Regions from separate parts of the Homo sapiens genome. Here region 1 is linked to region 2. The links are contacts of gene promoters, found by promoter capture Hi-C in blood cells and fetal thymus (Javierre and others, 2016). All regions are on one chromosome and are shown on one strand. The core of a region is centred on a gene start or on the middle of the fragment in contact, and the rest is flanking DNA. Distances in the headings are between cores, read along the strand shown.

Region 1 (3,685 bases), core at 1,186-3,685, 1.1 Mb before region 2:
CGAATGGATGCAGAGGGGAGGGGGGTTGTCTTTTTTTTTTTTTTTTAAATCCAAATAAAGTATGCTAGTTATTTGGACGGGACACTTCAGACTTGAAATATGGATACCTGCATCCCCCCCACCCCCCGACCTTTAGCCATCTGGGTCAAAGCCTCTAGTGACAGGTGTCTCTTTCCCTGGCCAGCTGGTAGCACAGATGTGTAATGGCTCTGGGTGGGGGAGGGGTATGAGGGGAGAGAGAAATCAGAGTAGATAGGAAAGGAGACAGAGGCTGGAGGAGGTTGGGCAGGAGTGTGTGCGCACGTGTGTGTGAATATGCTGAGTGTATCTCACCTGCCCGTTCTCAGCCACAGCCACACGTATGTGAGCTGTGCCTGCGTCTTCCTATGTAACTTGCCTGGTGCTGCGTTCTGTCTATGGCCGCCTGCCAAACTTGTGCTTTTTTTTTTTTTTTTTTTTGAGATGGAGTCTCACTCTGTCGCTTGGGCCGGAGTGCAGTGGCGCGATCTTGGCTCACTGCAACCTCCGCCTTCCAGGTTCAAGCAATTCTCTTGCCTCAGCCTCCCGAGTAGCTGGGATTACAGGAACCCGCCACCACGCCCAGCTAATTTTTTTTGTATTTTTAGTAGAGACGGGGTTTCGCCACGTTGGCCAGGCTGGTCTCGAACTACTGACCTCATGATTCACTCACCTTGGCCTCCCAAAGTGCTGGGATTACAGGCATGAACCACTGCACCCGGCCCAACTCATACCTTTTTTTTTTTTTTTTTTTTGGCAACCGTGTGCATTGGTACTGTCTGTCGGTGCAGTTCATCTATATGTTGTTGTGTGTGTGTGTTGCTTGGGTGTTTGTCTCCTTTGTAATGGTCGTGGGTGACAAGTGTGTCAGAGTACTTGTCCCTCCTATATGTGTATCTATGCGCACGTATCTTTCTTTGTGTGTCTGCTGCTGTATTTGTGTCTCTTCTTAGCGAGTGGCTGCAGGTATGTGTGCCCTCGGGGTGTTTCTTCTGGTGCCATGGTATGAGTACTATCTGGTTCTCTTGTTTTTTCCTTGTGTAGCTTTCAGTGTGGTTTCTGGATTTTTTCTTTGCAACGATAGTAAGCGTACTCTGCATTCCTGTGCTTTGTGTTTGTGTGCAGGTATATGCTTTCCCTATATGTTTCTTTTCTGACTTGATTTGTGACTAGCTGTGTGTGTACACGGCTGTGTGCAGCCATTTGCTGAAATGCAGTTGTGTGTGTGTGTGTGTGTGAGAGAGAGAGAGAGAGGAGAGAGAGAGAGAAGGAGACTATGGCTTTTCTGTTTGTACAAAAATCATGTCAGCCTATGAGTGCCTCTCTCTGTGACTGGAGCTGTATGTGGTTACATGTGGTCACAAGTGCACATTCAAGTTCACATACACAGAGATATCATTTTAGGGCTTGAACCTGGAAGTTTGCCTCCAGGGTCATCTGAACCTGGATTCAGGTTCAGATCCAGGGCCATCTGAACCTGGATCGTGTGTGTGGGAAAGACCCAGGACCCACACACAATGTCATCAGCTGTGTGTAATTGTGTGCTCTGTGTGTGGCTGTGAATCTGTGTGTGTGATTTGCCTGTTGATTGTCTTTGGCATGGCTGTGGGTCCACGGGCGGTGAGGTTCAGGAGTCTCGAGTGTCTGGAAATCGGCACAAGCCTATCCCTGTGTTAGTCTGTGCTCTCTGTGAGCGGCTCTGAGCCTGTCGGTATTGATAGCTGTAAGACTATCGTCACTCTGTGTGGCCACGTGTGTGACTGTCCCATGAGCCATTGCTCTTAACGTGCAGTGGTGAGTCTGTGTGTGTTCATGTCTGTCAGTCTTTATTCTCTTGTGTGGCTGTGAGTCTTTGTGCACCTCTGTGAGTGATGGCGAGTTGGCCCCCGTATCTGAGCCCCTTGATGGGGCTGTGATGGGTCCTGTTGTGTAGCTGCGATTCCTGAGTGTGCAGGAGTCTCTCTCCCGCTGTGGGGAAGTAAACGCCCCATCCCTTGTCCTCCTCCAACTGTGGGTGGGGTGAGGGCATCTAGGCCAGCTTTGAAGCCCCAGCCAGCTCCTGGCCTTTCCGGGAATTCTGTGTTCCCTGTCGGGGGTGGGCAGGCGGGCGAGGGGCCCAGACAGAGGCCTCTTGTCCACCTGGGCTTCAAGCAGCCCAGTCGAGGTGGTCCCAGACCCCAAGTCCACCCTGCCTGACATCCTGTAGCGGACACGTGGCTTGCCTGGGACAGGCATGCCTGTCATATGCCTGGAGGGGAGTGAACAGACGGACTCCCATAGAAGACAGACGGACAGACAGATAGTGGGACTTCTCAGGGCTTGGACAAGCCCCACCCCACGCTTGGGGTGGGGTCCAGGACTACAGTGCCCGCCCAGTTTGCGGACAGTGTGAGTTCACAGTCCACATTCCCCACCCAGCCACAAATGCCCTCCCTGCCTCCCTCTGGGGGCCCCCAAGATCTAGGGTCCTCTCGTGCCTAGGCTGTCTGCCTGAGGTCTGCCTGGAATAGCCTGGCTACTACCCCTGCACCTGTTCCCCTGCTGTCCCCAGGCCTCTCTGCCTGAATCTGCCTCTCTCTGCCTCTTTTCTCCTGTCCCTCCAGGAGTCTCTCTGCCTCAACCACTCTCTCTGCCCCTTCATCTCTCTGAGCTGGTGTGTCTGGTCCTACCCTCTGTTTGGGGAGCTGTCTGGCTCTGTCCCCCACCTCTTGGCCAGCCTGTGTCTCCTGTCTATGACTGAGCCCAATTGCCTGTTGCCTTTCTGCAGGTGTTTCCACGAGCCTATCCCTACCCACCTGTTTGTTTCTGAGTCTGCCTGTGTGTCCCTTTCTCCCTGTCTCTGCCTGTCTTCCAAGCTCCCCTAGCATCCCCTCCTCCCGCCCATCTGTCTTTCTGTCCCTTCTGTGGTCTGTCTGTTCCTGTGCTGTTTCTCATGCCTGCTTTCTTTGTAACTTCAGTTCTCCTACTCTCTCTCTGTCTCCTCTCTGCACCTTTTTCTGCCATCCATCCCATCCTGCTGTCCGTCTGCTCTGTGAGTCCATCCCCTCTGTCTGCCTGTCACTCTCTCTAGCTGTGGGTCTACACCCTCAATCTTTCAGGCCATTTCCCCCACCATCAACACACAAACAAACCGCTGTCTCCCTCCAAGTGGGTCCAGATAGGGGGCGCCCCTTCTCCACCTCTTCCCCCGCCCAGGGCCAGAAGGAGGGAAACGAAATTAAAATTAACATTTCTTCTCAGGAAAAAAAAAAAAGTACCGCTCCAGAGCAGGAGCCTAGGCAGCCGAGAGGGTGCCCGAACCTGAGTCTGAGTTGCGGCCACTTCAGGAGCTGAGAGGAGCAGGTAGGTGAGGAGGGAGCGTGGGCTGCGGGGATGGTGTTCCTGGGGGCCTGAGATATGAGTAGGGGTCCTGGGAGGGGGCTCGGGGTTCCTTGGAGACATTTTAGCACTAGTGGGGAATGGAATGGCGTGTATGGGGAGGTCCTTTTTGTACCCTGATCCCAGGAAGTGAATTCAGGTGTGGGTGGGAGGCTCCGGAGGGTGCTGGTGGTGGGGGATGGGACTCCTTGAGACCCTCCCTGTCCCAGGAACGGGATTCAGGACTTGGGAAAAGGATTTCCTGAGCCAGTTTGAGCTCTAATGGGGACCTTGAATGGGGGTTTCTGAG
Region 2 (4,050 bases), core at 543-3,042:
AGAAGCTCTCCAGACTTTATCCTTTTGGGGCTTTAGGGGGGCTTCATTATGTAGGCATGATTGATTAAATCATTTGCCCTTGTGGATCGACTTGACTCTCAGCACCCTCTCCCCTCCCAGGTGGTTGGAGGGTCCCAACCCTCTAAACCTACCTTAGTCTTTCTGGTGACCAGCCCCATTCGGAAGCTGCCTAGGGACTGCCAGGCATCAGTCAACTCATTAGCATACAAAAAGACACTTTAGTACTTTAGAGATTCCGAGGATATTAGGAGTTGTTTGCCAGGAAAGACCAATTATATATTTCACAGTATCACACCCCTACAAAAACCTTACACAAACTATTATAGGATCTTTATTCATAATATCCAACAACTAGAAACAACCAAGATGTCTTTCAACCAGTGAATGGTTATACTGTTTGGTACATCCATGCGATGGAAAAGTATCAGCAATAAAAGGAATGGGCAGGGCACGGTGGCTTACGCCTGTAATCCCAGCACTTTGGGAGGCTGAGGCAGGTGGATCACGAGGTCAGGAGTTCAAGACCAGCCTGGCCAACATGGTGAAACCCCGTCTCTACTAAAGATACAAAAAATTAGCCAGGTGTGGTGGCACGCACTTGTAATACCAGCTACTCGGGAGGCTGAGGCAGGAGAATAGCTTGAACCCGGGAAGCAGAGGTTGCAGTGAGCCAAGATCACGCCATTGCAGTCCAGCCTGGGTGACAGGGCAAGACTCTGTCTCAAAAAAAATGAATGAACTATTGATATACTGTTAGCTATTGATATCTCCACAGAATTTTGCTGAATGACGAAAGCCAGTCCCAAAAGGTACATACTGTACAATCTGATTAATATAACAGTCTCTCTTTTTTGTCCTTTTTTTCCTTTTTGTGGAGAACAGGGTCTCACTATATTGCCCAGGCAGGTCTCAAACTCCTAGGCTCAAACTATCCTCCTGCTTCTGCCTCCCTAAGAGCTGGGATTACAGGCATGAGCTGCCATGCCCGGCAAATAAAACTTTTTTTTTTTTTTGAGACAGGGTCTCACTCTGTCACCCAGGCAGAGTGCAGTGGCACGATCTTGGCTTACTGCAACCTCCGCCTCCAGGTTCAAGCGATTTTCCGGTCTCAACCTCCCGAGTAGCTGGGAGTACAGGTGCGTGCCACAACACCTGGTTAATTTTTGTATTTTTAGTACAAACAGGGTTTCACTATGTTGGCCAGGCTGGTCTCAAACTCCTGGCCGCAAGTGATCCACCCGCCTCGGCCTCCCAAAGTGCTGGGATTACAGGTGACAGGCGTGAGCCACCACGTCCAGCCACAACATTCTTGAAATGAAAAAATTATAGTATTGGAGAACAGATTGGTGGTGCCCCAGGGTTAAGAGGGGAGTGATGGAGGAAGTGAAGTGGTTGTGTCTATTTAATGACAACATGGGGGATCCTTGTGGGGATGGAAATGCTCTGCATGTCAATATCCTGGGTATTACGAGATGTTACTACTGGGGACAAAAACTAGGTAAATGGTACATTGCATTTGAATCTACAATTATCTCAAAATATAAATTTAACTAAAAATAAATAAAAAAATAAAGAACATATAGAAAAAAATAGGATCCTCCTCCTTACCTCAAAAGATCTGCCAGGTTCTCCTGGAATCAGGGCAGGGAATCTCTGGGGTGATGTCCCATTAGCTGGCATGTTCACCCTGGGCCTCAGCCCACCTTCCGTGCTGGACAGCTGTCTGTGTGTAGAGGGTCCTGCAGCCTCCAGTAAGGGGTAAGGCTCAATGGCTCCACAGAGACACCAAGAAATCCTAAAAGGACAGTATCCATATCATCAGTGTCATCCCACATTCACGCCACAATGTTCAGCATCCCCAGAGCATGAGTCAAGGTGGATTACAAAATGATCAAATTTGGGGCCAAATTAATGAGCTTGGGGTCCCTTCTTGAGTGGCTCTACCAGGTGCTTCACTCGCTACTCAGCCAGCCTACACCTCAGTTCAAGTTCAAGGCAGATCTGGGTTTAGGAGAAGTAGAACTGGGGCAGTGCTTAAGGGTGCTTAAGGCCCATGGGGTGGGCAGGTTCAAGGGGACCTGGTGGGTGACTGTGAGGGCAGGAAACCTGGAAAGCTGATAATCTAAATGAAAGGAAATCGGCTGGTCCTTTCTTCTGCCGTCTTTTGTTTTTTTCCACTCTTAGATGAAATATCCCTCTTAAATTCTTTTACTGGGAAGCTTTTAGCCTCTTCTTTCCAGAAAAAAATGGTTCAATCTTAATAATGTTATGTATTTTTTCTTTTTTTTTTTTTTTTTTTTGAGATGGAGTTTCACTCTTGTCACCCAGGCTGCAGTGGAATGGTGCGATCTCAGCTCACAGCAACCTCCGCCTCCCAGGTTCAAGGGATTCTCCTGCCTCAGCCTCCCTAGTGGCTGGGATTACAGGCGCCCGCCACCACGCCCAGCTAATGTTTGTATTTTTAGTAGAGACGGGTTTTCACTATGTTGGTCAGGCTGGTCTCGAACTCCTGACCTCAAGTGATCCTCCCGCCTTGGCCTCCCAAAGTGCTGGGATTACAGGTGTGAGCCACTGCACCAGGCCTAATGTTATGTATTACATCAACAAATTACAGAGGGAAACACTCTGCTGTTAACTTACACCAAAAAAGCATCCAACGCAATTCAGCAGCCATTACTAATATAAGCTCAAACTAAAATCATGGAAAAAGTAAATAACTTAAGTGCCACAAAAATCAATTATGAAACATAACTCTGAAACACCATGCTAAAAAGTAAAATGATGAAGCTATTGCCACAAAATTAGTACTGTCTGCTATAACCCAAAATTGTTTTGTGGGCTCTAGCTCACACAAGAGAAGATGAAATAGAGTGGGCTGGGCACAGTGGCTCATGCCTGTAATCTCAGAACTTTGGGAGGCCAAGACAGGAGGGTTGCTTGAGTCCAGGAGTTCGAAACCAGCCTTGGCAACAAAGTGAGACGCTGTCTTTACAAGAAATAAAATAATCCGAGTGTGGTGGTCCACACCTGTAGTGCCAGCTACTAAGGAAGCTGAAGCAGAAGGATAGCTTAAGAAGCCTGAGAGGTTGAGGCTGCAGTGACCTCTGATGGCGCCACTGCACTCCAGCCTGGGTGACAGAGCAAGACTTTGTCTCTAAAAGAGAAAGAAAAAGAAAGAGAGAAAGAGAGAAAGAAAGAAAGAAAGAAAGAAAGAAAGAAAGAAAGAAAGAAAGAAAGAAAGAAAGAAAGAGAGGAAGGAAGGATGGAAGGAAGGAAGGAAGGAAGGAGGGAAGAAAGGAGAAAAGAAGAGAAAAGAAATAAATAATCAGGCCAGGTGCAGTGGCTCACGGCTTTAATCCCAACACTTTGGGAGGCCAAAGCAAGAGGATCCCTTGAGCCCAGGTGTTCAAAACTAACCTGGACAACATGGCAAAACCCAGTATCCTTAAAAAACAAACAAACAAACAAAAACACACACACAGAGTTGCAGTGCATTGAGATCACTCCACTACACTCCAGCCTGGATGACAGAGTGACACTTTGTTTCTATTAAAGAAAAAAAAAAGAGGCCAGAGGAGGCGGCTCACGCCTGTAATCCCAGCACTTTGGTAGGCCAAGGCAGGCTGATCACCTGAGGTCAGCAGGTCAGGAGTTCAAGACGATGGTGAAACCCCGTGTCTACTAAAAACACAAAAATTAGCTGGACATGGTGGCACACACCTGTAATCCCAGCTACTCAGGAGGCTGAGGCAGGAAAATTGCTTGAACTCGGGAGGCAGAGACTGCAGTGAGCCGAGATCACGCCACTGCACTTCAGCCTGGGTGACAGAGCAAGACTCCACCCCAAAAACAAAACAAAACAAAACAAAAAAAAAAAAAAAGAAAAAGAAAAAGAAAAAAAGGCAGAAAGAAAAAAGAAAATAATAATTAGGGTGAACATGAACATTGGGAAGAAATGAAAACGAAAATGTAGCTTTCTATCCAATAAGATGATTTTATACATGGAAAACCTACCAGACTGCTAAAAGA

The links. The method cuts DNA at HindIII sites, captures the fragments that hold promoters and counts their contacts. A CHiCAGO score of 5 or more calls a contact.
Region 1: the fragment with the promoter of SLC38A5 here is called in contact with the fragment with the promoter of ZNF157 in region 2 in 2 of 17 cell types (neutrophils and monocytes); the score reaches 5.8 in neutrophils.

Annotation. Positions count from the first base shown.
Region 1 is chrX:48,469,010-48,472,694 of GRCh38, reverse strand. SLC38A5 (solute carrier family 38 member 5) reads left to right here and starts at 2,435. Exons shown (of 17, transcript NM_033518.4): 1 at 2,435-2,513; 2 at 3,259-3,360. The HindIII fragment of the contact is 10,592 bases long and covers 1-3,685 here.
Region 2 is chrX:47,368,320-47,372,369 of GRCh38, reverse strand. It overlaps ZNF157 (zinc finger protein 157), which reads right to left and starts at 1,792. Exons shown (of 4, transcript NM_003446.4): 1 at 1,630-1,792. The coding sequence starts at 1,701. The HindIII fragment of the contact is 3,930 bases long and covers 1-2,242 here.